Linked DNA regions of Homo sapiens: regions 1, 2, 3 and 4 are each linked to region 5. The links are contacts of gene promoters, found by promoter capture Hi-C in blood cells and fetal thymus (Javierre and others, 2016). All regions are on one chromosome and are shown on one strand. Each heading gives the region's core, a stretch centred on a gene start or on the middle of the fragment in contact. The rest is flanking DNA. Distances are from core to core; before and after follow the strand shown. Region 1 overlaps LOC105378758 (a long non-coding RNA gene). Region 2 has its middle 11 kb from the start of MIR101-1. Region 3 holds the start of LEPR (leptin receptor). Region 4 has its middle 7.9 kb from the start of MIR3671. Region 5 holds the start of USP1 (ubiquitin specific peptidase 1).

Region 1 (4,551 bases), core at 1,196-3,695, 2.6 Mb before region 5:
AAAAATGGACTTTGTACATTTAAAAAATACGGCCTCACAGGTAGTCCAGTTATTTAATCCGAATGGCCAACTTAATTATTCTTCAGAAAAATTTGAGATTTATATTAAAAAATGGGTAAAAATAATTCAAGCTCATCTTCAGATACAAAATGCCAAAAGCTTAGCATATTCAAGCTCATTTACTGTAGTCATGAACCTTCAGTCAGTAGATTCTTCAATAGGTAATCATTAATTTCACTCATCTAGACACAATGGATTTTCTTGTTTCACTGTGTTGAACAAAAACAATGCTGACTCCCTGAAGAACTATTTCAGTAACAAGGGAAAATACAGAAACTGCAATGATTGAAGAAGGATTGTATATGTTATGTTTTATTTGCAATGATTGTCTTTAAAAATCAGCTCTGATCTCCCCAAGGATGAATCTCTTCTTCACATCTGGAAAGAGGTTTTATGAGGTATGCAATTTATTAGTTGTATGAGCTTGGGTGCCTCTTGATGCATCAGTTCCCTCATCAGTAAGATAAAGTTGAAAAATATTACTTACTTTATCAGGTTGTTAAGGATAAATGAATTAGTGTAAGTGAAGTACATTGAATAGTGCACAGCACCTAATAAGTGCTGCATGTTTTAGCTATTATTGTTTTTTTTTTTATAGCTTTATGATTGGATATGTTCTCAGTCACCAATTGTGTTCATAGAAAACTTTTTTTTTTTTTTTTTGAGATGGAGTCTCGCTCTGTTGCCAGGCTGGAGTGCAGTGGCATGATCTTGGCTCACTGCAACCTCCGCCTCCCGGGTTCAAGCGATTCTCATGCCTCAGCCTCCCGAGTAGCTGGGACTACAGGCCAGCGGCACCACGCCTGGCTAATTTTTGTATTTTTAGTAGAGATGTAGAGACGGGGTTTCACCAGGCCAGGATGGTCTCGATCTCTTGACCTCATGATCCTCCTGCCTTGGCCTTCCAAAGTGCTGGGATTACAGGCGTGAGCCACCGCGCTTGGCCAGGAAACTTTTTTTTTTTCTTCTTTCAGACGGAGTTTTGCTCTTGTTGCCCAGGCTGGAGTGCAATGGCATGATCTCGGCTCACCACAAGTTCTGTCTCCCAGGTTCAAGCGATTCTCCTGCCTTGGCCTCCCGAGTAGCTGGGATTACAGGCATGTGCCACCATGCCTGGCTAATTTTGTATTTTTAGTAGAGATGGGGTTTCTCCATGTTGGTCGGGCTGGTCTTGAACTCCTGACCTCAGGTGATCCACCCGCCTCTGCCTCCCAAAGCGCTGGGAAGGAAATCTTTTTATAGTGGCAAATCCTTTAATGAAATGTGCAGCTCCCTCTTTTCTGTATAAGGCTAGGTCCTACCCAATAGTTTTGTTTTTCATTATTTCTTGGTCGTTTTGTTTTAAAGATCTTTGGGGAATATTCCCAAATCACATTAGGAAGTACTCATTTACTGGGTTAAATCGTTTCAAACATTTTACTAGCCATGAGCTTCAAGGAATTTTCTGCAAGAGCGTTTAGTAAACCCTTTGCACATCTTTCCTGGCATTCCGGAACATTTTTGTTCTTTGTTCTTATAGCCCAATTTGTTAATGCTTATGATTAAGAAGCCCCCTTTTCTAGTGTCCATAAATGATCGGATAAACTTCTTCCCTCTAACATTTTGACGTTTTAAGATGTATTATATTATATATAGGCTATACTTATCTAACACATGAAGGGAAAGCAAGATATTCTAGCTCCTTAGGCAAATATCACTTCAATGTATTTTCAACTGATATACATGTAGAGGCTTCAGAATGCCACATTTTGTAACGACAGTTTCAAATGTATTTTTCTCAAGCGGTAATAAAAAATAATCACTATTTCTAACATAGTGATCTCTATCATCCTTAAACATTATGTTCTTATTAAACCTGTGAAACCAGTCTTGTGAATGTGATTGTATCTATTTTCCATACATATAATGTAATTAAATAATTTTAATTTTTAAAATATTAATTTTCAACACACCTGAAAACAATAGGAGCAGCCAGGCATGGTGGCTCATACCTGTAATCCCACCACTTGGGAGGCTGAAGCAGGAGGATTGCTTGAGCCCAGGAGTTTCAGATCAGCCTGGACAACATAAGAAGACCGCATCGCTACAAGAAATGAAAAAATTAGCTGAACATGGTGGCACGTGCCCGTTGTCCCAGCTACTCAGGAGAGAGAGGTGGGGGGGATCACTTCAGCCCAGGAGTTTGAAGCTGCAGTGAGCCAGGATCATGCCACTCCACTCAAGGGTGACACAGTGAGACCTCGTCTCAAAAACAAACAAACAAACACCAATAGGAGGTACCCTTTGTTATATTGTAATTCTTGCTTTTTAGAGACAAACATCTGTGGATTAAATGATTAGACACTCACTATGTGTCACTGTTTGGTCTTTGTTTTAAAAACCTGCTTACATGGATTAGAAGGATTTTTGTACATAAAAAATAGGTCACCAACTGAATGAGAACCATGGATCATCTCTTCCAACAGAGTGTAAAATGATGACAGGTCTTGTGATTCACTCAGATAAACTGAGATATAAACTCCATGATTTATACGTTTAAATGATACTTTAGATTGGTTACATTATCGGTACATTTTTACTAAATGCCTATTTTTACTTGTTTTTAGGTATTTGAAAATAAATGCTACATTTACCTTGCTATTTAAATTTTTTCTCATCGGAGTTATTAAGGACAAGATAAATTATGTGCGATTATGTTTGATTTAGAGCTTTGGGGTGAGTTTATATATGCTTAATAAATCAAATGGTTACATTTATTTTTACTTAATAAATGGCAAGCTAAACACTCTTCCCTGTAAGTTTAAAACATAATTGATAAGATTACTCTGTATTGTGATTTATCTTTTTTGTAACTTTTGTTTCCCCAGGAACCTGTCTTAAATCCTCCAAGGTGTCATTCATTTAGTTATTTGACACTAAGCCCCTAAGTGAAATTATAACTATGGCTAAAATCCTTCCTCATTTTGGAGGCTTCTAATCCAAGAACCAAAGATGCCAACATTCTTCCTCTGTGACTATTTTAACTTTGTGGTTATGATACCTATTGCCACACTTTCAGTCCTACTTGTCCACACTTAAACACCATGCTTTCCCATTCTGAGTGATGGCACCCTCATCCCCACCCAAAGCTACTGTGGGTGCTACTGCCTTACAGAGTATACTGTGGTGTGCTGCCTGGATATTTCCAGCATCTTGGAGTGCTTTCAGCAGACAGCCATCAGCCATCAGCCTTCTTTGTGAATTGCCTAGGCTGCCACGTCACCTCTCTAGGGCAGCCCACATGCAATGAATGATTTGTCAACATGGAAGCGTACAGACCAACTCCCCTCATTCAAACTTGGAACAACTTGGAAGGACCATTCCAGCTTCAGCACTCCCCAGGGATAAGTCAAGACTTTCATTGAGCCTGCACCACAACCTGCTTTCTCCCTCTGCCCACTACTTCTTCCTTCCCTCCTCTCTCACAGCTGTTATTCCCAACAGCATTTCTTAATAACCCTCCAACATGCTAATCTCCATCTCAGGGTCTACTTCCTGGAAAATCCAATTTACAACAGGCTGCAATAACAAAAGTCCTCGAAGTTAAGATTTTTTTTTTCTGTTTATGGTACAATTTTAAAATCTCTTGCTCTATGGATGCGCATTCTCTAGTGACAGAGATGTCGTCTCCCTTAATTTGAACTTGCACTTGGCTTCAATTTCTCCATTGAATCCTTAGAGTAATCTCTCTTTGGGCAGCCCAACAGGTTGGCAATAACATCTCTTGGAAGTAAAATGCATTAAAAGGCAGTTTCATTAAGTGATATAAAATCCATGTAACTCAAGTCTTCAACAGCCCTAGAAGTAAAATTTCCAGTATCTCATACAGTTCCTAAATTAATATTAATTTCATAGCAAGAGTGAGTTTCAAGCCAGTGTGAAAAATAAATGAATATTCATTTTTACACACAGTGGGAAGGAATCCACATCCTTGATCACCTTTCTCCAGTCTCTACCTTAATAGTTATGCTGGCTGAAAATATCCATAGGATATTTGTCCCTATCTTCCCAGTCCCATTACCTAAACATTCAGATCCAAGTCAATTATGGTCAAGGTTGTTCCATTAACAGAAAGCTAAATCTTACCCATAATGTCTGGGATTGGTCTTGCTTCCCTAAACCCTAGTATGGTATTTGATGGAGCTCAAATACACCTTAGGTATTTGTGCCCACTGTGTTTACAGGTCTAAGAACAAGGAGGTGTTGTAAAACGTCAGTTTTCATTCCTGTCTCTCTTTCTGTGACTCTGCCTCGGGCATATAAATCTCCTCCCTCGGGGCCTGGAAACTATTATTCCAAAGTACCTCCCAGATTCTGAAAATTGTCACAGCTGCTGCATTCAGCTTCTTCTGAACTTTGATATTGACTTGAGGTAGCCTGAGTTTGCAATTTGCTATAATTCTTTGCCTATTTGATTGCAGACCACTCTTGTGGGCATCATCCAGAAAAGCA
Region 2 (4,019 bases), core at 1,440-3,939, 2.6 Mb after region 5:
GCTGGGCAGTGGCGCGCCCTCGGCCCCCGGCGCCGCCTGGCCCGCCCCCAGACCCCAGTGCGGATGCCTAGCGGGCCGAGCCCCACGGCTGCGTGTGCGTGTGCGCCGCGGCCAGCCTCGCCGGAGCCGCTCTGTGCGCCCCACGGCTTCCCGCGTCCCCAGGCCGGCTCCGACGCGCCGCGAGACGGGGCCGGGAGCGCAGCAGCCAGCGCTCCACGGCGGCGCACGGGCGCGCACTCGGACGTCCACACTCTGCGCCCCGAGCCTCGCGCGGCCGCACGCCCCACGCAGCCCGCCTCCCGCGGGCGCTCGGCCCCGCGCGCCCCGCCGCCCCCGCGCCCGGCCGCCGCCCCCACACCCACCTGCGCCCCCGGGGGTCCCGGGCTCCCCTTCCTTTGTTCTTCCCGCTATTTGCATGAGGATTATCTAATGACGCAGCAAGGCTCGCCACAACGTGACCGTCGCCATTTTTCTGTTTTTATTCTATCTCTGCCATGTGATAGATGGCGGGGGGGTTGGAAAAGGGAGAGAGACGGGATTAAAAAAAAAAAAAAAAAAAACTTCCGGGTCTCATGACCGGGAAGGGAGAAAAACAAAAGGGAGACGAGACACAACTCTAAGGGAAGGATGTGTGTGCGTGCGTGTGTGTATGAGAGTGTGTGTACGTGCGCGCGCTCTCCCTCCTCTGCTGGGAGAAAGGAGGCTCCGGCAGCGGACAGGCAGCAGCCATCCTCCCACCCTGGAGACCAGTGGCCCCGGTGGGTCCAGCTCGCACCCTCTGATTGTGGCGGTCGCCCGTCCTGGTCCCCCACGCGCCGCGGAAGCTGGGGGAGCTGTCAGCCTGCTCCCCTCCTCTGGCTGCCTTCACTCGCCTGTCCGCCCCAGAGCTCGCTTTCCCTCCCGGGCGGCTGTACCGTTGTGGGCTACGTTCAGAGAAGTCCCACTATTGCCATGAGCAGGGACATAATAGAGTTTAAAGGCCGCCGTATTTTCTAAGTTTTAAAACAGTTTGCTTCGACGCCGTTGTTTATGACAACCGCGTGGCAACACCAGGCACAATCTAATGTTGGTTCCAATCCTTCCCCTCTTTCTCTACCCCCGCTTTCCCCCTTTTCCCAAAGTGGGGCACAACTTGGTGTGGTCTTCAATGGGGATTGGTTTTGTGGGGATGGACCATTCACTACGGATTGATTGATTTAAGAACCGCTTATTTAAATAAGTGGTGTTCAGGGTCAGAGGATTGTTTCAGAAGACAGTTGCATAGAGCAAGGTGGATTCGTGTTACACTGATCTTATTCACATTCAAAGGGAGTGATAGACATTTCATTCTTTCCGAAGTTCACAGTTGCTGAAAAAAAAATATTTGGGAACTCTGCCACTGTTTTCCGGTGAGATATAGAATTTTGTACTCTTGTTTACTACTGGGTTCCCTTCAGGCACTTTCACTTTTGTTTTTCGTGAGTTTCCTTTCTGGTTTTTTTTTTTTTCCTCTATTTCTTAATTCAGAGCAGAAATGGACTTCATAGTTGAGCAGGGTTCCTGGCTTTTACAGGGAGAGAAACGGAGACTCTGAGTAGTGCTAGGAGTTGCTCTAGGGCACACATTTAATTAGAGCCCAGCTTGGATTGCGCCCTGCTCACCTGTCGTTTCTCTTAGGGGTTGGCTATAAGAGGATGGGGTGGGGACGGGACTCACGGAACATCGCTATGTGCTTATTGTGAATTATTTTTATTAGACTCACAGAGTTGACCACTCTCCCCTTTGTGCATCCACTGTATGGTTTTTACATTTATTTTCTGGTGCCTTTCACAGATCAGCGTACGGCACAGTTGCTGTATCTCCCACTAGGGTAAGCTTTGAGGCCAGGGCCATGCCATACTCATTTTATATCTCCCATATTTAGCACCATGACTAGCAATGAATGAGCAAATGAAGGCCTGAAGAGGATCTTTTCCATAATTCCATCCTAGGAAATTCCTTGCATGTTTCTGGTGAAGGTAGAACACTGGAGATGCTTTTTGATTCTTACACCTCTGCAGACCATTTTTGGCAGTCTTCTTTAGTTACAAAGCCAGGCAAAACATGTTTTGCTTTTCTCAATTTTTTAAATCAACTGCTTCCCCCCTCGCCCCGCCCCGCCCCTCGTTTTACCATATTTGGTTCCTCTTCTTTAAATTCTTTCTGATTCATATGAATAAATTAGTTATGCCAACCTTTGCACTTTGTGAGTTGCTTTTGCTTTTAGACTCCAAAAGTTTGATAAAGTTTAAGGTGTGATTTAACCTGGTGCAGACTGGAAGCAAATCATCATGGGCAGACAAGACTCTGATTCTTCCTGGGATCACTGAACTGGGAGACTGGCGGTTGAGCAGGCAAAAGAGGACTGTTGAAAAGATGTTAGCATCAGGCAAAAAGTACACGTTTACCAAAAACAACAACGACAACAAAACAAACAAAAAACAGAATAACTGCCGTATACAATTACAGCTCAGAGGAGGATCTGGATTGTCACAGATCAGTTCTTATACATCTGGACTGATAAGGTTCCATTGCATATCTGAACATGATCTACATGTATTCCTCTGGATGGGGTAAATGAAATTGGTATGAATGATTGTAACATCTACAACCCATATGTTTAATCCTTGATAACAACAGTGTGATAGTAATTTAAGTATATCATCAGTTTGCAGTCAAGGTGGAGATGAAGTCTAATTATATATGTAAAGTCATTTGTTCTTTTGAATACAAAACTGAACAGAAAAAAAAAGAACATGGCTCAAAACATATAGTTATAATAAATACCTCCATACCTCTTGTTTTACACACATGTGCACTCACACATTTTTAAAAAATCAAACTTTAGTCTTCTGAGGTACCATGTAGTGGCTGATTAAAGGAAGTTCTTATAAGCACCTCACCAGTCTTCCTCTCTCCAATATGTACTTGAAAATGACAATTCCTGGAGTCATGGTGAGAGCACAGACTTTGGAGTCTGGTACTAATCTCAGCTCTGCCAATTTGTTAACTGTGTCAGTCTGGGCAAGTTATTTATCAGTTGCGATTCTTAGTTTCTTTACCCATAATATGAGCATTATAACAGCTAGCTCAAGAGTTTTTAGAATTGAAGTGTAATCAAAATGTATTAAGACATATGTAAAGCACCTAGCATGATACTCGGAAAATAATCTTCAATAAAGGGTCATTATAATAATTTTTAAACTGCATTTTATTTACCCCATGCACTTCCCAGAATTATTCTTTCCCTTTTGGCTGCCTGACCTTGGAAATTCAATAAACCTACTATTAATGAAAGTTCTGTGACTATGAAGATAAATCAGAATAGTTCCTGGCCTCAAAAAGTTCACACTTCAGCTTTGGAAGAGATACAGATACAAGGAACTAGACTGATACTGGTAACCGAAAGAGAAGACCACTTTGTACCAGTTTATGATGATCTACCTGAGCTGTATTTAATTAAGATTGGGTTTTTTTTAAAGATTTACTAGTATCGACACAATGATAAAGCTTGTGGAAGCAGGAAAATTCAAGAAAAAAAATCTCACATTTTCACATAAATGAGGAATACTATCTTTAAAACTCCATCTAGTCAGTATAATTCCTCAGCTTTAAGAAACAATTTTCTGATCCATTATAAGAGGCAAGCTTCTTTTGCGTTCATGTGAAAAATATGCCAGGTTGTACCTTTGAAGTAATGTTGGAGAAATGTAGTTAATAGGAAGCACTTCTGGTTGTTAATTAATTAAACCACTTTAATCAAGAACTATTTTCTGAGAAACTTATTCCCAGCCCTGGGTGGGGTGCTAAAGAAACAAAGATGATGAAGATAACAGACTTTGCCCTTATGGAACTCATCATCTAAGAATCAAATGTTTATTGATTACCTACAGGGGATGCAATAGTGAAAGAGATACTGAGCTTAGTCTATTGAGAGATTGATATATACACATATCTTTCTAGCTTCCTCAAGAAGTATGTGATTGACACAGGATTTGGGC
Region 3 (4,022 bases), core at 1,002-3,501, 3.0 Mb after region 5:
ATGAACAAAAGTAAAGCAAGTTTATCAACACGTGCGTTGTTCATATAGGTAACATGGGAATACTCAGAGATAAGCAACTCAAAGATTTGGTTAGAACTTGGGTTTATACAGCATATTAGCCAAGGAACAATAAATTTTTAAAGAAATGACAAGATAAAGGATCTTGAGTCTCTAGGGGCAGCAAATTGTCGGAAAACAAATATATGGGAGACTAGTTGCAGATGAAGGCCAAATACTAAGGTTTATCATGTAGATTTTTCTTGTGTTGTCTCCAGGCTGACAGGGGTCTAAAATTGTCTCTGGTGATTAATCTTTGTCTTTCCTGGTAGAGCAGGAAGGAGGTACACCTTCGTAAACTTATATCCTGCTTTTTGGCAAATAGAGGGAGGGCAGAGTGCTTTTCTAGTACCGTGTACCTATTTGCTTCTTCCTAATTGCCTTCAGCTCAAAATAATCCTTAAACCAAAGTGGCATACACTGCCAATGCTCTTGAGTAGATTGAAGGCTCCAAAGTAAAAAGTGCTGTACTGTAGTATTGGATCTCCAAGCATCAGCAGTGAGTCAGGTATTACAATGCTGTTTTCAGTGAGTGTGCCATCCGTCTATGAGGAGAAATGAGAGGAGCTAGAAAAATAAACTGACAGCTAGAAAAATACTCCACTGAATCAACAAATAGACATTTCTTGAAACAGTAACATGCTCAATGTGCAATTTTGAAAAAGTAAACTGAGCAAGGATCATGAAACATGATGGTGGTGAGAATTTATACTTCTCAGGTAGCCAGGGGAAGCTAGGTTTCCACAGATTCCTTTGTCTTTCAGTCCTTTTGAAAACGGAGAAAAAGCAAGAGAAGAGGGACGGCACCATCAGGTAGAGTGGATCTCAGCTAGAATGAGGGGAAGTGGCCCAGAATCCAACCTCCTCCAAAGAGCTGTGTGACAGGCAAGTCCTATCCTTTCTGCACCTCTTTCCTTAAATGTAAGTTGAAGCATTTGGACCAGACTGTTTCAATGATCTTCTAGATTGCTTTTGCCAAAACAGAACTCTCCATTCCTGTAAGATAAGTACACAATGGCTCTCAGAGATCTAAAAACTGGCCTTGGTTACCTGCAAACTTTGAGGCCCCAAGGCACAAAAATAATAGCTTTTTTTTTTTATTTTTTTTTTTAAGGTTCATGAAAGCTTCGGACACAAAAGCTTATATGGTCTTCGTCTCTATAAATAAACCAGGGAGTAAAGAAAAACCCCGCTAGTTTCAGTAAAGCGTTGCTATTAAGCAAAGCAAACCTATGCAAATATCAAGTTCTTAATGAGGAGTGTTTCCTAAGGGGCCTGTCCTCTGGTACCCCGCCTCTCCTCTGCCACAGTCATGTGAAGGCAGACAGGCACACACTCGCACACTAGCACGCACTTGGGAGCTCAGGGAACATAACACTGGTTAGTGAGTCGGTGTCCCTCTCCCATCGATTGCAACTTTTCCCCTCCTTCCCTCTCCTGCCTCTCCCCACTTTCTACATCTCCGTTCTCAGGAAGGCTCAGGGAGGATCCCCCGCTGCGTGCACTGCGTTCTGAGAGGCCGGGGAGAGACTCTGGGCCCGCGGTCGGGGCGGAGCCAAGGTCCCAACCCACATTGAACGGGCTTGAGGATTACTTGGAGGGCTCAGGATCTAGGAGGAGGGCCCAGGGCACTGGGTTGGGGTTACTCTGGGAAAGCTCTGTGGGACCAGGTGGGACCTTAGGGCTGGAGATGGACTCTGCGAGCTGGGGGCGGAGTTCTAGACTGGCAGGAGCGGAGTTCTGGGTGGCGGGGGCGGGGTCGGGACCAGCAGGGACGGCCTCTGAGAGTTGGGGGCGGAATTCTGGGCCGGTGAGGGCTGGGGCGGGACCAGCAGGGGAGGCCTCCGCGAGCTAGGGGAGGAGCTCTGCATTGTCTGGGGCGGGGCTTCGAGTAGCGGTAGCGAGGTCTGGAGCCGCAGGCGCTGCCTCCGCGAGGTAGGGGAGGAGCTCTGTACTGTCAGGGGCGGGGCTCTGAGTAGCGAGGCCGGGTCTGAACTATCAGGCGCGGCCTCTGCGAGCTGGGGGCGGGGTTCTGCACCGGCGGGGGCGGGGTTGTGAGTGGTGGGGGCGGGGTCTGGAGCAGCAGGCGCCGCGTTTGCGAGCTAAGGTCGGAGTTCTGCACCGGCGGGGGCGGGGCTCTGCGTGGCCGGGGCGGGCTCGGGATCCGCGGGGCGACTCCCGGTCTGGCTTGGGCAGGCTGCCCGGGCCGTGGCAGGAAGCCGGAAGCAGCCGCGGCCCCAGTTCGGGAGACATGGCGGGCGTTAAAGGTACATCGCGGTCCCCGGCTCGCTTGTCGTGTGGTGGGGTTGCCACCTCCGTTCCGGTCAAGCCTGGGGCTGCGCCTTCCGCGCGCCGTTGGGGAACGGCCTCACCACCCTTCCCGCCTCTCCGGTTCGGGAGGCGATCGACCGCTCCCTTCGTCCCTTGGGGTGTGGGTGGAGCGGCGTTTCGGGGGAGCCTTGGCCCTTTTTGCAAGGCCGCTGGCCTTCCTGCTCTCCAGTGGCGGCACCAGACCCCTCCCCAGCCTGAGCCCTCGGCGAGAGCGGCGCCCTCCACCTCTCCTGAGTTTTTAAACAAGGTTTCCACTTCTTGACGCCACCCTAACGCCTTTCTTCTGGTTTTCTGCCCCTCCGCAGTTTCCTATTTGCCACAAAGGACCCTTTGTCTCCAGCGTTCTTAGCATTGGGAAACTTAATCCTCTTTTTCCTAATGATTTTTCCAACTGGGCAGAGTTGACCGCGGGCGGGTGTCAATGGAAAGCACCCAGAAAGACGGTGTTTCTCGCAGTCGTGGAGAGTAGATTACGTGTAATTTTAATACTGCTTTCTTCGGTGTTTTCTCTGTTTATGGACAGAGAAGAAACCAGTGTGTGTGTAGTATGTGTTTTTTGCATGGGGCAGTTGGTAAAAACACCGCGTCCCTTATCTGTATGGCTTCAGAGCAATGCGAGACGGAAAAGGTTTTTTGCAAGGCTTCCTGTATTTTGGTAGGAAAACATTCCATTTCTAATCTGTCGAATAGAGTAGCATGACTTGTTTTTATATTGGCTTTTATATCATCCTTGAAATTTGCACCCAAAGATATCCCCAGTTAACATCTGCTATAAACATGTAGATAGTATATATACGAGTACGCCTCTGTTCACTATGAATTTATCCGAGTATGTGAGCTGTTAGCAGCAGACATTTTATCGTTATTTCTGGCTGACTTTTATACTTAATATCAGTTTAGTAAACATGGTTTACTTGGAGAGTGTCGACTGTGTTATATATCCATTTGAAGCCAATGCCGAAAACAGATGAAAAGTAGTGTCTCAGTACTACACATGATCAGAAACTACCAAATCATGATCACGTTTATGTGTGAATGTGTTAGAAAATTGTGATGTAGTGAAAAAAAAGGAAGTCTGAAATGGAAACGGACTAAGGGAAGGAAGCATTTTACAGATTGTTCAACTTTTATTGAGGAACTACTGTATGCCAGAGACTTAGGATACAAAGATAAATGAGAAGTTATTGGTGGGTGACAGAGCTGGAAATAATTATATTACTATGTCAGTGTTTATGTTGGGCTCAGATGCGGTGGGAGAACAGATGGTGGGTTGGATTTTGTCCTCCAAAAAGATGTGTTCAAGCTCTAATTCCCTGGTACCTGTGAATGTGATCTTATTTGGAAGTAGTATCTTTGCAGATATAATCAAATTAAAATGATAACTGGTTTAAGGTGGGCCCTAATCCAATGACTGGTGTCCTTATAAGAAGAGGGGAATTTAGACATAGAGACATACAGGGAGAATACCATGGGAAGACGGAGACAGAAATTGGAGTGATGCAGCTACAAAGTCAGGAGCACCAAAGATTGTTGGCAACCATGCTGGCAACCACTGAGTGTTAGGAAGAGGCAAGGAAGGGTGCTTCCCTACAGCCTTCAGAGGGAGTGTGGTGGCGCTGCTGACACCTTGATTT
Region 4 (4,159 bases), core at 1,449-3,948, 2.6 Mb after region 5:
GAACAAATAAGGCAGAAAAAGGGACAGGGAGGGGGATGTGGCTTCTGTGAAAGAATTGAGATAATACAGGTAAAAAAAAAATCAGTTGTGGACAGTTCAATAGAAAGTCCTCAAACAATGTTAAGCTATTACTACCACAGGGACTTCTGAGCCCACGGACCTACAGTTAAGTGCATCATCCCACTTCTGAATTATTAAATAGGTGACGTATATTCAAAGAAAAAAACCAAACAGGAGTAGATCCTGATGTTGTTTGCAGGTGGAAGAAAAGAATCAATGAAAATGTCATGATTTGGGGGTTCTGGCATAGCCTCATTTGTCAAGGATGCTGATAAGAATCTGTGGAAAATTTAGAAATGCAGAAACCTGGGCTTGAACTGAGTGACATCAGGTAAGTGACCTAGTTTTTCTAGGTCTTCATTTTCCCTGCATTTGACCAGGGCTGTTGTGACACTCAGTTGTAACATGTAAAATACCAGACACACAGCAGGTATCGCTAGCATATATTATTATTACCATTGTCCAAACAAGCTCATCTGCATTTTCAGAGACTTTCAATGTGCTCAGGATGAAAAAATAAGGCAGTATTTCTCAGGAGGGCACATTCCACAATCATGTGTTACTAGGAGTTGGACTAAGGTCGCTTGTTATGAGAACACACGAGGAAAACATAAGGAAGTATTCAACCGATTAAATGCTCAATCCATTTCTCAGCCTTACTAGCTCCTTGGCTGCAGTCTTCAGAATCTCAGAAGATGCAAACAAAGACACGCTGATTCATTTAAAATAGTTCTTCGTATAAATCTGAGAGTTTAGCCAAAAAACAGTCCAAAAGGATTTATGAGGTGTGCTTTCCTTCACAGAGCCTGCAAGTCAAGGAGGCTACCTTTAATCAGCCTGAGTTTCCCAGACACCTCTGTAGCGTCGTCCCTTTGCTTCTTACCACTCTGATTGAGAGTCTTGGGAAATGGGCATTTAATATGTTTTCTGTTGAACTTTTTCTCATGGGAGCAGCTGTACGAGGAAGGGTTTCTTTCTGCTTTCCCAAGGGAAAAATCAGAAATCACTTCACTCCCATTTCTGCAAGTTCAAAAGCAAATGAAATCTTTGAGGCATTTATTGGTGTTAGTACCTTGTCCACTATCCACCCCTAAGGCAACGGGATCTATTTCTAGAATTGGAAGTCCCTCATTCACTGTCAATAGCCTTTTTCTGCTGTTAGGGGGCTTGCATCCACAATCTGCCCCTTCCAGGGGCAGCTGTAACCACCTGGACTTCAAAAGGAGTAAGGGCGAGGCCTGGCATGGTGGCTCATGCCTGTAATCCCAGTACTTTGGGAGGCTGAGGCGGGAATATCTCCTGGAGCCAGGTGTTTGAGACCAGCCTGAGCAACAAAGAGAGATCCTGTCTCTACAGAAAAATTTAAAAATCAGCCGGCCAGGTAGTGCACACCTGTAGTCCCAGATACTCAGGAGGCTGAGGCAGGAGGATCCTTTGAGCCCAGAAGTTTGAGGCTGCAGTGAGCCATGATCGTGGCCCTGCACTCCAGCCTGGGTAACAGAGTGAGATCCTGTCTCAAACAAACAACAATGACAAAAAACACAACCCAAACAACAACAAAAAGACTACACAAAAACTCACTTCTTCACGAACTTCAAAAGAGGTTGGTCCCTAGAAGAACCACCCACCTTGGTGGGCATGAGCTTTCTGACTGGCCACGGGTCCTTCCTTTGGGATACCATCCATATTCTAACTCACTCCTTGGGGCACATGTTTGTTGAGAGGCACTGCTGTGGTCCACAGATGGGTTGTGGAGGGTACTCTTTTGTGGGGCACTAGCAAAAAAGCTTAAGTTCCAAGCCATCACCCACATATTCACTGGAGGCCATGATGTCCAAGGAACCTCATATCCTCACCCCACCAAATGTAGTGTCGCTCCCTGTCTCTCTCCTGCCTCCTTCTCTTAGCATTGCAAGCCCTGGGCATAGGGAGCTCTTTCTGGGATAGTGGCTTACCAATTTTCAGACAATCATGATGTCAAATTCGCATGCTCCGCTTCGCTGAGAGAAGTTCCCACAAAAGGTGACATCTCCCCCTCCTCCAGTCATCTTTTTATGGGGGTGAAGGGTGGGGGCAATGTGAGAATTGGTTCTGCTGAAATGACACCTTTTGAAAAAGCTCTGCAGGAAAATGCCGCAGAGATGCAGATCTCTGACCACAGAAAGTGGGGATTTTGAACACCTTGTTTTTAGCTGTGGGTTCTTCTCACCCATACTTAGCAAACAGGAAACATTCCACTCACATCTCATAGTACACTAGTTTTCTACTGTGAACTCCATGCCAGGCTTATGCCAGACACTGCAAACACAACAATGGGTAGAGCCATGTTTCTTGTTTCACAGAATTCGCCATCTAACGAGACATTAAAAATATGCACCCGCAACACACGTGATTCAACTGTGACAAGTGCTCTGAAGGAAAAGCACAAAGTGCCATGAGATCAGACCTAGGCAGGATGTCAGGAAAAGGTCTCTGAGGAATCAGTACTTAGCCAGAAACTGAAGGATAAGAGGTAAGGTGAACTGAATGGTAAGGGTGTCCCAGGCAGAAGGAAATGCATCTGACACAGAAAGGACTTGATTCCCTGACAAAGGCCAGGCCAGTCAACTGGGTACAAGAGATGGGACCTGAGGAGTAGGTGGGACCACACTGCCCAGGGCATCATGGGGCAGCTGAAGAGGAGAAGCCACTAGAGTGTTTTAAACCAGAGGGTTTTTAAGTGATGGCATGATCAAACTTTCATTTTACAGAGGTAACTCCAGCTGAAGAGTAGAGAAGGCATCAGAAAAAGGCAACAGTGGACAGGGGAGGCAGTGTATGGTGCAAATTTTAAAGCAATTTTACACATGCTGGGTCTAACTCTGTTTCGAAGCCTCACCTACTAATCAACATAATATTAACTTCTTACATTGTTTCTGGACTCAAATGCCTGCTTCATCACTGACTAGCTGTGTGGCTTAGGGACCCACTGGGAGCCTGAGAGCCTCCTCAGGTTCTTCAATTAGGAAACATGGAGAACTCTTCTACTCTTTGAGGATTTCAATGAGGATGAAATGAGTGCTTTGGTACACAGGCGCTCAACAAATATTGACTCATCTCAAGCAAATACAATTAAGGAAATAAAAGGAGAAAGGGAAAGCCTCTTCTAGCTATTTGATCCAATTACTTAAAATTCTACCTGTAAATTATGCAGGGGATAAGCATTTATTTAACAGTAGCAAATTTTATGCTATTAGACTAGTGCTATTAGAATAGCTTGAGACCTGATAGGTATGTCAGGTTTTTTTTTTTTTAACAGAAATTAGTGAATGATGATAAGTGGAAAGATTCATGTCTCAATATACACTATATATTACACTAGACTTTTAAAATTAAAAATCCATAATTCCCTCTCCATAAAAAAGGGTGTCTATATTCCCAGTGATATGGTTTTCCAGAAATCTAGTCCCTATCAATATAAATCTGGGAATTTCTGCCATTCCAGAGGATCTAAGCTTCTACACTACCAATACTGCATACTAAGGTATCAGCAAATGTAGCACTCCTCCTCAGTCTGATGTCCACAGCACACCCGGGTTGATCACAGGTAGACCCAGAAAGGTGGTTACAGCACTCCTTCCTGCAGAGCCCAGATGTGGTCTCAGAAGTCTTCCCAGCAAAGTGCCCTAGACAGCTAGCCCCCAGTGGACCCCAAGATATTCCTGGTTCGAAGATACTCATTTTCAAATTGAAAAAAACCAATGGGAGTCTAAGTAATTTTTCTGCAATTTCATTTACAAAGATAGTAGCAAAAAAGTGAAAATACATTTTCTACAGACTAAATCGAAATGGTTCTCTATTTCTTCTCACCTTTTAACATCATCAATCTCCTCATAATCTCATGGAAAATAAAATACAGTAATAGTCTAAATGCACAAAGCAACGTATAATCAGCTTACTTTACTCCATTTCAATTATGTGCATTTTAACATATTTACATTAGAAGCATGTATTACAACCCGAAACCTTGTCAGACAGCTTAAAGAACCCAGCTGAGAATGTTCCATACCTGCTTGCTTATTTGTTTATTAAGAGACAGGGTCTGGCTGTTACCCAGGCT
Region 5 (4,131 bases), core at 630-3,129:
TCCTGGGTTCAAGCGATTCTCCTGCCTCAGCCTCCGGAGTAGCTGGGATTACAGGCCTGCGCCACCACGCCCGGCTAATTTTGTATTTTTAGTAGGGACGGGGTTTCTCCATGTTGGTCAGGCTGGTCTCGAATTCCCGACCTCAAGAGATCAGCCCGCCTTGGCCTCCCAACGTGCTGGGATTACAAGCGTGAGCCACCACGCCCGACCCTGCTTGTACTCTTGAAGGTCAACGTGTAATCCCGCCACTCCCCAGCTCAGAATCATCTAACGACTCCCATCTCCTTACTCGGCTTACCCAGGGTCCTGCCTTTCTCACTCATCTCATCTCCTCCCATCTTATTTCCCAAATTGACTGCGCTCTAAGCGCCCTGGCCTCCTTGCTTCTTTTCAAAACACCAACCACATTAAGCTTCAGGACGTTTGTAACTTGCTGTTCTCTCTGCCCGCACCATTCTTCCCTCAGATTCCTCCAAGCTTTTTCATTCAGCTCTGCTCAAATGTCAACTCAAAGAGGTCTTTCCAGGCTATCGTATCTATCACTTATCTTAGCGTCACTTGTATCTCCCTCTCCAGAATGTAATGCTCCTTTATGACAGGGAATGCCTTTACATCCCTCGCGCCTTGAAAAATGCCTGGCACATAGTAGGCACCTTAAAAATACTTGATTAAATGGATTTGGGCTGAACGTATCCTGCTTAACTGCAGCACTTGAGCTGAGGTCACCTCACCAAAGCAGGCACACAAACACAAAAGGAAGCACACAACCAGATGAGGCCTGCCTGCCGCTCCTGAACCCTTTGGGAGGGCTCGCGCGGGAACCCTGGGAAGCTCCCGCGGCCGGAGCTGGGCCTGAAACTGTTCTTTCGTTTCCTCCTGCGGCCGAGAAAGGGAAGAGGTAAACAGGCGAAAATGAGGCGAGCAGGGGCTGAGGACCGGGCCTCAGCTCTACAGCATTCGCCTGAGCATGTATTGTTATCCGTGGCAGCGCCTTGTCTCATTGGATGGCCCTAGGCCTAGTGTGGCCGCGACTCCGAACTGAAAGCCCAAGCGCGGCGGCGTCCAGCCGGGCAGCCATTTTCCGAAGCTGCTCTCTTGGTAACCCCGCCCGGGCGCGTACGCACGAACGGAGGCGGGGCTTACCGCGAGGGCCTCGCTCCGGAAGCCGCACCCTCCGCGGCGTCCCACCGTCGAGGATTAACAAAACGCCAAACAAGATTTTAACAGTCGGCAGCGAAAGCGCGCACTCGAGCGCCAATGAGAGCGGAAGGAGGGGCACCGCGCCTGAGGAACACTCCGTATGTCGAACAATGATTGGCTGGAGCCCACCTTTCTTCTTTTTTGCTATTAGATGGGCTTGCTGCTCCCGCCCATCTAATTGGCTTTGGTCTAGGTACTTCTGATTGGCTTCCCCCGGGCGGTGGGAGGCGCGGTTTTGGGGATTGTTCATCATGGATTGGTGAATTTGGGCTCCTTCTCGAGGTGGTGGCCCATCCCGTCTGCTCTCTGTCCCGTCTCCCGACCCGTACGCTTTTCCCTCAACTCGCGCGCACGAATGGTTAAAAAAAGGGTGTGAGGCTCGAGCCCGCCAGCCAGGCCGCTAGCACCTCGCGCGCGCCCTCAGCGAGGACCCGCACGAGCTGCCCGGCTCTGTGCCTGCGTTGTTTGAAACTGTGGAACCCGTTAGGCTTTTGGGGAACTACAGTCCCAGCTGGCTCCGGAGCCCGTGCGTGCCAGGGGCGAGTGGCCGTCGCGAGACGGCTCCTGCCTTTCGTGTCTCTGCAGCGTGGAGACTGGAACCGGCAATTTCAAAGGACGCCACGTTCAATCGCAGCGCTGGCGCGGGCGGAGGCTAAAACACGGGGGTCCTGAGACTGAGGAAAACGCGCCAAGTTCCCCTCGGTGGCGGAGTGCTAAAGACCCTAGCGGTTCAGGCGTTCGGCGAGCGGGGCCGCTGCTTGTTGCGCTCCTGGCTCTCCCGGGGCGGGCGCAGATGGGCGCCGCTCCCGGGATGTAGTTGGTGTTGGTGCAAGACGGGAGCGAGCGGCGGTCGGGGTTCCCGCTCTTGGGAGCGGATGGTCACTCCCCCGCGGGGAGGGCGAGCCGACCAGATTTTCCTGGGGCCGGGGACCCGGCGGGCTCGGGGCAGGGACTCACCTGTCGCACCCACACTCATTCGGGTTGGACTTGCCGGCGTCACCGCCGCGGACTTCGCTTTGGGCCATGACCAGGTAAGGAGGGCCTGGGAGGAGGGGCCGGCTCCCGGGCGCGGGGGCAAGTTCGGCCGGCGCGGGAGAGGAGCTGCCGGGGAGACCCCGGGACCGTGTTGGCCTCGCACCCTGGTCGACCTGCCAGGGGGAGCCGTGTGTGCCTCGGGCGTGGCGCCTGTCTTGCCGCCGCCGGGACGCGAGAAGGCAGGTGCGGGCTGGGCGTAAATAGGCCAACTCCGCGGCGAGGGCGCCCGGCGCGGGGGTGTGGGCCGAGGACGCCGCCGCCAGCCTCCCCCGACCGGGCAGCCTGGTCGCTGCTCGTCCTTCCAGCTTTCTTTCCGTTCCCGAGAGCGGTGAAGGATGGGGAGAAAGAAACGTTTCCACGCAGGTTGCCCTGTGTCGGTAATTGCGAAATTTTACCGCGCATTTTCTTTCACTTACACTTTTTCAAGAAGTGTTTAGAACGCCGCGTGTCTTAAACCTTGGCGAAGATGTCCTTGTAGATTTTTGTTGAAAAATCGGAATCGAGTCGTGTCATCTTATAAAGAATTTAAAACTATTGGGACTGAGTGTTCACGCTGTCAACAGATAATGGTCGATTCGTCGTGCTTTCTGCGAAAGTTGATTTAGTTACAGGAGAAATATTTTGGATGTAACAGCCCCCCAGTTACAAGGAAAGCCAGGAGCAAGAAATAGCAAGGAAGATACTGCACCTGGCAAAATGTTACATTCTCGGTGTGAGCTTTGCTTTGAGGGGCTAGGAGGTTTGGTTTTTTGATTAAGCTGACGATCCGCTATTTCACCTGCCTAATCATTCTTCCCTTCTGTGTAGTCTGGTTACTCTGTCGGTTTGAGATCCAGTTTCTGTCATCCATTAAATTGGCTCTCGAGAAAAACCTTTTATCAGAATCATTAATGCTTGGCGATCCCTGAGAACTTAGCGCAGGTTGGTTTATCATTCAGAAGACAGCGCTTCCTCAGAAGCATTAGGTAGACAGGAGAGTAAGTGAAGTTGGAGACAGAATGGAGAGATGGATCAGCTTTCCAGTGCTTCCTGATTTGGGTCTCAGAAATGGTTTCAGTGTGCTGAGTTCAGTATGAATTCCTAGATCAGTGTCAGCCATGTGAAATGCTTATTAAGGATGAAATTTGAGTGAGTCTTGTGTAGTTCATTTTATTACTCTGCATTTTAAATTTGAAACTCGTTGCTGAAGTTTTGGGCTTTAAGTAATTTTATGGTAATACTCTAGTCAGATAATTTTTCCTCCCATGTCCTGAAAAATAGGCCTGATGTAGAAAATATTAACTCCTACACTCCTACAAATGTTGCCATTTTTTTTCACGTGCAAGTTTTACTTTAAAACAGGGTGGGAAAGTTGCAAATGGCAAACCAAATCATCTTTTTTTCCTACTCAAAGCACTATTTTTAAAATCCAAAGTTTTTTAAAAAGTTTGGAAAACGAGTATTGTGGTTTCTAGTGCATTAAGAATTGGATTTACACAAAGTGCATCGAACAGTTTTTTTTATCACGGTCTCAACTTTGCTTGTGTTTTATCTTTCACTTACGGTTTTAGGTATAACTTAACACCATCTCTATGCCTTGAATGCAAATTATTCTTTAATAAGCTTTTTAGGTACTTTATTTTCATATATCCATGTTAATAACTAGAAAAGGCATTGGAAGAGAGGACTCATCGTCCAGCACTACTTTGATTTTCCATTCATCCTTTCCTACCTTGTACTTGAGAATTAGAGGTGGTAGTGCTCAGTCAATATTTTCTGAATGAATCATTATAATGAAATATTAAGTTGTTTTTTTTTTGAGACTAAGTCTTGCTCTATGGCCCAGGCTGGAGTGCAATGGCACGATCTCGGCTCACTGCAGCCTCCGCCTCCCGGATTCAAGGGATTCTCCTGTCT

What was found. Contacts are between HindIII fragments. The CHiCAGO score rates a contact against its expected background, and 5 or more counts as called.
Region 1: a fragment that was not itself captured here is called in contact with the fragment with the promoter of USP1 in region 5 in 1 of 17 cell types (activated CD4 T cells); the score reaches 6.2 in activated CD4 T cells.
Region 2: a contact is called between a fragment that was not itself captured here and the fragment with the promoter of USP1 in region 5, in 2 of 17 cell types (activated CD4 T cells and naive CD4 T cells). The highest score is 7.5, in activated CD4 T cells.
Region 3: the fragment with the promoter of LEPR here is called in contact with the fragment with the promoter of USP1 in region 5 in 5 of 17 cell types (total CD8 T cells, naive CD4 T cells, activated CD4 T cells and 2 more); the score reaches 7.2 in total CD8 T cells.
Region 4: a contact is called between a fragment that was not itself captured here and the fragment with the promoter of USP1 in region 5, in 1 of 17 cell types (neutrophils). The highest score is 5.1, in neutrophils.

The regions. Positions count from the first base shown.
Region 1 is chr1:59,805,486-59,810,036 of GRCh38, forward strand. It overlaps LOC105378758 (a long non-coding RNA gene), which reads right to left. Exons shown (of 5, transcript XR_947426.3): 3 at 2,013-2,143. Among named protein-coding and RNA genes, the nearest start is that of HOOK1, 7.2 kb to the right of the region's middle. The HindIII fragment of the contact is 4,576 bases long and covers 158-4,551 here.
Region 2 is chr1:65,067,242-65,071,260 of GRCh38, forward strand. It overlaps a transcript of JAK1 not described here. Among named protein-coding and RNA genes, the nearest start is that of MIR101-1, 11 kb to the left of the region's middle. RefSeq lists a silencer at 1-233. The HindIII fragment of the contact is 1,674 bases long and covers 1,853-3,526 here.
Region 3 is chr1:65,418,417-65,422,438 of GRCh38, forward strand. LEPR (leptin receptor) reads left to right here and starts at 2,252. Exons shown (of 20, transcript NM_002303.6): 1 at 2,252-2,324. It overlaps LEPROT (leptin receptor overlapping transcript), which reads left to right and starts at 2,252. Exons shown (of 4, transcript NM_017526.5): 1 at 2,252-2,324. The coding sequence starts at 2,309. RefSeq lists enhancers at 1,566-2,098, 2,099-2,632, 2,706-2,755 and silencers at 1,746-1,815, 1,836-2,335. The HindIII fragment of the contact is 9,332 bases long and covers 1,196-4,022 here.
Region 4 is chr1:65,047,845-65,052,003 of GRCh38, forward strand. It overlaps a transcript of JAK1 not described here. Among named protein-coding and RNA genes, the nearest start is that of MIR3671, 7.9 kb to the right of the region's middle. The HindIII fragment of the contact is 1,707 bases long and covers 1,846-3,552 here.
Region 5 is chr1:62,435,170-62,439,300 of GRCh38, forward strand. It overlaps USP1 (ubiquitin specific peptidase 1), which reads left to right and starts at 1,880. Exons shown (of 9, transcript NM_003368.5): 1 at 1,880-2,231. RefSeq lists enhancers at 347-1,114, 797-1,146, 1,115-1,882, 1,707-1,776 and a silencer at 2,477-2,536. The HindIII fragment of the contact is 3,360 bases long and covers 476-3,835 here.